Linked DNA regions of Homo sapiens: region 2 is linked to region 1. The links are contacts of gene promoters, found by promoter capture Hi-C in blood cells and fetal thymus (Javierre and others, 2016). All regions are on one chromosome and are shown on one strand. Each heading gives the region's core, a stretch centred on a gene start or on the middle of the fragment in contact. The rest is flanking DNA. Distances are from core to core; before and after follow the strand shown. Region 1 holds the start of RHOA (ras homolog family member A). Region 2 holds the start of IP6K2 (inositol hexakisphosphate kinase 2).

Region 1 (2,946 bases), core at 392-2,891:
CCCATGCACTGCCGCCCTCCCCTAATAAATCCCTGGCTCCCCATGAGCAGGGCCCGGGTTGTCTTTGTTCTCTGGGCCTCGTGTGGCCCCTATCACGTGATAGGGGCCCAGAGATTATCTGAATGAATGCCCTGATTAGTGAGCGCATGTTTTGCAGAAGAGGAGGCTGACCCTGATGAGGTCAATGTGCTCAGGACAGAGATTACTGCCTTCCCAACTGAGGGGATTGTGCAGAGTGGAATCCAACAAACCTGTCATTTCATCTCTCTGAAATTATGACAATACCACCACCTATCCTACAGGCTGCTGAACAGCATGATGATGGACTGTCCAGACCTTGGTGTCACCCTAACTTGAAGCCTGAGCTCTACGTGCAGACTTGAAGCTTGCTGCAAAGGCCATTAAGCTGGTGGGCTTAAAGCCTGAGAACTCCCCTCTCTGTCACCAGCACAGGAGTGTCCTTGGAATGCCAAGCATGGGGTTGCGGTATGGACAGATTTACTCACCACGAAGGGAAATGCGTGGAGCCATCAGGCGTGGATCCATTCTGACCACCCAGACCTGGAGGCAGAAACACATCCAGAGCTGCAGAAGGCTGGGGTGGGAATCTGAGCAGGCATCAGCCCAGGTCAGGTTAGAGACCACTGGTATTGTTTGGTGAAGTCTGGTGAGGGTCCTAAGGGACTAATGGTATTGCCAGGTGAGAGTTCTGAGGAACAGATACAATGTGATGGGTGGACTGGTGGGGATTCTGGCGTAAAATGGTATGGTGGCATGAGTCAGGGCACAACGTTAAGTTCTCCCATCCAAGTACCTGGCTTAGCTTCCGAGGTCAGATGCGTTCAGGGTAGTAAGGCCGTGAACCAATGTTAAGTTCTGATGAGCCTCTTGCAGGATAGTGGGGAACCCAATGGTACAGTCGGGAGAGGGTGGGGGCGGGGGCGGCCAGCCCACGGAGGTTCGTAGGAAGCCTCACCTGGACGGTGATACAACCCGGTCACTGTATTCCCGTAGAACCCCCACGCCAGCTGGATGCCCAGGAGACTTAACACCAACCACAGCAGCAGCAGCTTGAAGAGGGTCACGCGCATGTCCTGCGCCTCCCACTCCCGCAAGAACTCGCTGCCCAGCGCGCCCAGCACCGTGGCCGGCAGAGCCTGCAAGGCCTGCCCAGACCAGGACTCCGCCATGACTGGCCCTCGCCCCACCCGGGGTACTGTCACCGTAGTCCCCACCACGCACGCGTGTGGTCTTCCGGGACCAGGCCCGTTAGTGCGCACGCGTAAACCCAGCCAGGGTGGGGCCTACTTCGCGTGCGTGAAGAGTTGGCAGTTCGGGGAGGAGTATTAAAACCGCGCACGCGCACCTAACCCCACCCTGCTTGCTTAAGGGATGAGTGACTCCGGGAGTACAAAATAGCAACCAGGTCTTTTATAGCCCCGGAGTTCCCGTGATGCCCCACGCGGCTGCAATGATTGGTTAAGGGTTTTGCTTTTAGGGCGTGGACGGGCTCCTGAGCAATAGTGGATGAGCTGTGAGTGCGCGCGCGTGCGCGGGGCCGCGACCTGTGCCGGCTCGAGCCCGCTGGGCACTCGGAGGCGCGCACGTCGTTCCCCGCCCTCCCGCCGCCGCCCGCCCTCGCTCTCTCGCGCTACCCTCCCGCCGCCCGCGGTCCTCCGTCGGTTCTCTCGTTAGTCCACGGTCTGGTCTTCAGCTACCCGCCTTCGTCTCCGAGTTTGCGACTCGCGGACCGGCGTCCCCGGCGCGAAGAGGCTGGACTCGGATTCGTTGCCTGAGGTGAGCGGAAGGGTTCCCTCCAGGCGCCGCGGGGCCCCAGGCCCGCCAGCCCGGTACTCTTCCGGCCGGCAGGCCGCCGCACCGCCGCGGCCGCGCCCCACCGGCTGCTCGTGGCCGAGCCGCCCCTGGCCCCTGACCCTTGACCTGACTCCCAGCCCGGGCCCCGCGCCCCAAGCGGCGACCCCGCCCGCGCAGTCCCCGGAAGCGCGCCCGGTAGTCTCCTGTGCCCCTTCCCCCGCCCGGCCGGGCCTGGTGGAGCCCAGGCTGCCCGCCTGCCCGCCCTCGGTCCCCGGAGCTTCCTCTCCCAGCGGCGCCGGGCAGGGCGGGGGCTTTGGGCCGGGCCCCGCGACCGCGCAGTGTAGCCGGCCGCTGAAAGCGCGCGTGGCTGTCGGAGTTGAAATGGGAAAGAAACTCTTTACAACTCCATTTTGCTTTTTACGTTTAACGAGAAACGACAATCACTGTTTCATATTGATTAAAGTCCAGTTACACTTTGGGTAGGTTTTCTTTTAATGCAGACTTGTTGGAGACTGTGTAAGTAAGTAAAAGATTGTATTGAACGCTTAGGGGTATGATCTACGGCCATACCACCTGGAACGCGCCCGAACTCGTCTGAAAGCTTTGGGGTCTGTTTTGAGTGGAAAAGGGGTATTTTCCATTTGGAAAAAAAAAACAACACACAAAACTGTAAATGATTTAAGCGATGTTGCATGAAAATAGATGCAATGTTGCTTAGTCGAAGTCGCTGTATTGATTAGGAATGATCTAAATATCTGTACCTTAGTTACTGATTGGATCTACAGTTACGGGTCGTCTTCATTGAATAGCGCTATTCGCATCCAAGTTGATTTGTTCACAAACCTTGTTTAGTAGTTTACGGTGGAAAATTGGAATCCTTTTTACCTCAAAGTTGGTTCCACTTGTGTTTTTTAATAGTTCTGATTTTAAATTTTTACCTCTGTTGTTGACTTGTTTGGTTCTGTCTTGAAGAAAGTCTTAAACGTTTCTTGCAGGTGTGTAAGTAGATATTTCACTCTGCCTTTCTGAAGGAGAAAAATTGAAAAACCAAAAAACTTCCATAATTTAAAATGTTGTATGTGGAGAGAATTTTTCAACCACTTAGTATCACCCAGATGTGTAATGTGTACC
Region 2 (3,204 bases), core at 275-2,774, 700 kb after region 1:
GTCCAGTCCGCGTGCGCAGCTCCTAGGACGAGCCAATAGTGAGGGGCACCGGGAGCGAGGTGCAGGGGGCGGGGCTCGGCCTGGCCGCAGCCATTTTGGTGCGAGAGAAACAATAGGACGGAAACGCCGAGGAACCCGGCTGAGGCGGCAGGTAAAGCTCGCGTCCTATGGCCCTAGTGCCCGAGGAGCTTTGAGGGAGATTTTTTCAGGCTACTGGGAAACGGGATCTCTGATCATTGGAGTCTCCCAGGTTATTTGGGAAAGACTTCTTCCGTGGTCATTGTGGGGGAAATCTCCCGGGGTCCCTGTGGATTCGATTTCCCTGGGTCATTTGGGAGGAGGGTTTTTCTTCTGATCATTGGGGGAGGGATTTCCGTGGTTTTGGGGGTCCAGCATCCTCCCCGGTCATTGGAGGGGGTCTCCCGGGTTTGGGGGAGGGCAGGATCTTTCCTGGTCATTGAGATCTCCCCGGGTCTTGGGAAGCGCAAGATCTACGGTGTCATTGAGGGGTCTCCCCAGGTCATTGGCGGCCACGATCTCCCCAGATATTTGGCGGGTGGAGGGGTCTTCCCGGATCTTTGGATAGGGAGTCAGCTCAGCGCCTCAGGTACTGTTACCTGGGGTCGGCAGATGTGCAGCCATTTTGAGTGTTGAATGCCATTTGGGCCCGTCAGATGGTGTTCGATGAGGGAATCTACACACTTAACCTTATTATAGAAAAAATGCCTTTAAATGGATAAGAGGACACCTTTATAGTGATATTTCCACTCTTTACGTTTGATTACAGACCGCTTTTGTCTTTTGCATCCTAATGGCTTATTTCATTTTAGGATTGTATTCGTTCTCATATATCAACTAAGCTACACTAGCAGAAAAGTGAGTGAAAATAAAATGTAGAAACCAGTAAAATCCAGTGCTCTTAAATACCAGGGAAAACAGAACTAGTCACTGCTTGGAATTAAACATTTCCGTAGCAGAATGTACACAGAACAAAAAATCATCTTGAATAGTTTTAAGAAAAAGTACTGGCACTTTGGAACGTGGTAACAAAAATGTTGTAGATCATCGGTTCTATGATATTTTTAATAGAGGACCATGATTACAGTAATTTTGTTGAATTCTAGTGTTTAAAATGTTTGCTGTATTTGCAGTTGTAGCCAGGTAATATTTTAAGTGAACTAAGATGCTTATTTATATAGGTTGTTGCTGTGGGGTTTGTATAATTGCATCGTGTAACTTGGGTGTTAAGTATTTAAAGAGAAGCTTCAGGGTGTTGTTTTAACTTTAGCCACTATCAGAGTTAGAAAGGGCCAAATGAATACTTTATCACATTTGACATAATAGGCAAATTGATGGCCTAGTAACTTTTTTTTTTTTTGAGAAAAAGTTAAACTGTTAACTGTCATTTAAAATTTTTTTTCTATTTTCTGTGGTCTTGTCTGACATTGTCATTTCGATAGATTTACCTGCTTTGTGACTTTAGAATTCACAGGCATTGTTAGAAATCAAATGGAGAATCACTTGAGCCCAGCAGTTCAAGATCAACCTGGGCAACATAGCAACACCCTGTCTCTACAAAAAAAAAAAAAAAAAGAGAGAGAGAGAAAGAAATGAAATGGATAAGAACACTGACTAGAGTTAATACAATTGTAGAAACTAGCTTTTTGTTTGTTTGGTTTGTTTTTTATGCAGGGCCTGGGTAGGGAGGGAGCAAGGCAGGGACCTGGGAGATCTAGAAATCAGTGTAACAGATATAATAGATTTCTTTTGTGTTTCAAAGCTTCCTAGGTGACAGACAGGTACACTGTATGCTAGCCCTGTATCTGTCTGAGCAGTGGAATGTGCCAGGAAAGAAGGAGCAACCACTGACTGATGAACCTTTGCCAGTCTCCCTTCCAAGAGGGATGCCAGAGCCTTCTGTAAGCTCCTGAGATGTCACTGGTATCTAGGCAACAGGGATGAGCCTGAACCTCCCTGAGGCCAGCTTACTGAGGTGAAAATTTTCCATTGTTTGGCTCATAAAGAGGATGCACTGGGGAAGAATTTTCCCTTTAAGTGAAGTTATTTCACCTAGTGGGATAATCTTGGGTAACAAATTGAACACACTCTTATACATTAGAAAGTAAGCAGATGATTATTCTCATGTTATTACATTTTAAAGCATGTTTTTGTTTTTTTAAATTATGTTTTTGCCTATTTGTGTACCATATAATAAAAGTAATAAGAAGTAGTTGTGTTTTACAGTATATTCTGGTGGCAAGGAAATGTCCTTCTCTCCAAAAATTGAGTTTAGAGCCCACTTCAGGATTTGGAGAAGTCAATTTGCCGAGATGATGCACAGTTGATTTGGGTCTGTCATCCATAACCAGCTTCAGTAGTTACTAATTCCTGGCCAATCTTGTTTCATCTACACTGTGCCTATCCCCATCACTGCCCTACTTTTTTTTTTTTTTTTTTTTTGAGACGGAGTCTCTCTCTGTCGCCCAGGCTGAAGTGCAGTGGTGCGATCTCGGCTCACTGCAAGCTCCGCCTTCCGGGTTCACGCCATTCTCCTGCCTCAGCCTGCCTCAGCCTCCGCGCCTGGCCTGCCCTACCTTTTAAAGAAAGAAAGGGCCAGGGCCAGGCTTGGTGGCTCATGCATGTAATCCCAGCACTTTGGGAGGCCAAGGCGGTTGGATCATGAGGTCAGGAGTTCAAGACCAGCCTGGCCAACCTGGTGAAACCCCGTCTCTACTAAAAATACAAAAACTAGCCAGCCTCTGTGGCAGGTGCCTGGAATCCCAGCTACTCAGGAGGCTGAAGCAAGAGAATCGTTTGAACCCAGGGGGTGGAGATTGCAGTGAGCCAAAATCACACCACTGCACTCCCGCCTGGGCGACAGAGTGAGACTCCATCTCAAAAAAACACACACACACACACACAAAAAAAAGGAAAAAGAAAGGGCCGAGCGTGGTGGCTCACGCCAGTAACACCAACGCTTCGGGAGGCCGAGGTGGGCAGATCACTTGAGGTCAGGAGTTTGAGACCAGTCTGGCCAACATGGTGAAACCCTGTCTCTACTAAAAATACAAAAATTAGCTGGGTGTGGTGGCAGGATCCTCTGTCTCAAAAAAACAAAACTAAACAAATTTCTGGGATATGCTCCCTTTAAGATTCAGGGGTTTTTTGTTTTGTTTTGTTTTGTTTTTAATGAGACGGAGTCTC

What was found. Contacts are between HindIII fragments. The CHiCAGO score rates a contact against its expected background, and 5 or more counts as called.
Region 2: a contact is called between a fragment that was not itself captured here and the fragment with the promoter of RHOA in region 1, in 1 of 17 cell types (fetal thymus). The highest score is 5.2, in fetal thymus.

Annotation. Positions count from the first base shown.
Region 1 is chr3:49,410,671-49,413,616 of GRCh38, reverse strand. It overlaps RHOA (ras homolog family member A), which reads left to right and starts at 1,641. Exons shown (of 5, transcript NM_001664.4): 1 at 1,641-1,797. It overlaps TCTA (T cell leukemia translocation altered), which reads right to left and starts at 1,194. Exons shown (of 3, transcript NM_022171.3): 1 at 977-1,194; 2 at 507-561. The coding sequence starts at 1,190. RefSeq lists enhancers at 982-1,391, 1,327-1,621, 1,520-2,494 and silencers at 1,462-1,761, 1,822-2,101, 2,112-2,201. The HindIII fragment of the contact is 2,031 bases long and covers 388-2,418 here.
Region 2 is chr3:48,714,104-48,717,307 of GRCh38, reverse strand. It overlaps IP6K2 (inositol hexakisphosphate kinase 2), which reads left to right and starts at 87. Exons shown (of 6, transcript NM_016291.4): 1 at 87-151. The HindIII fragment of the contact is 517 bases long and covers 1,266-1,782 here.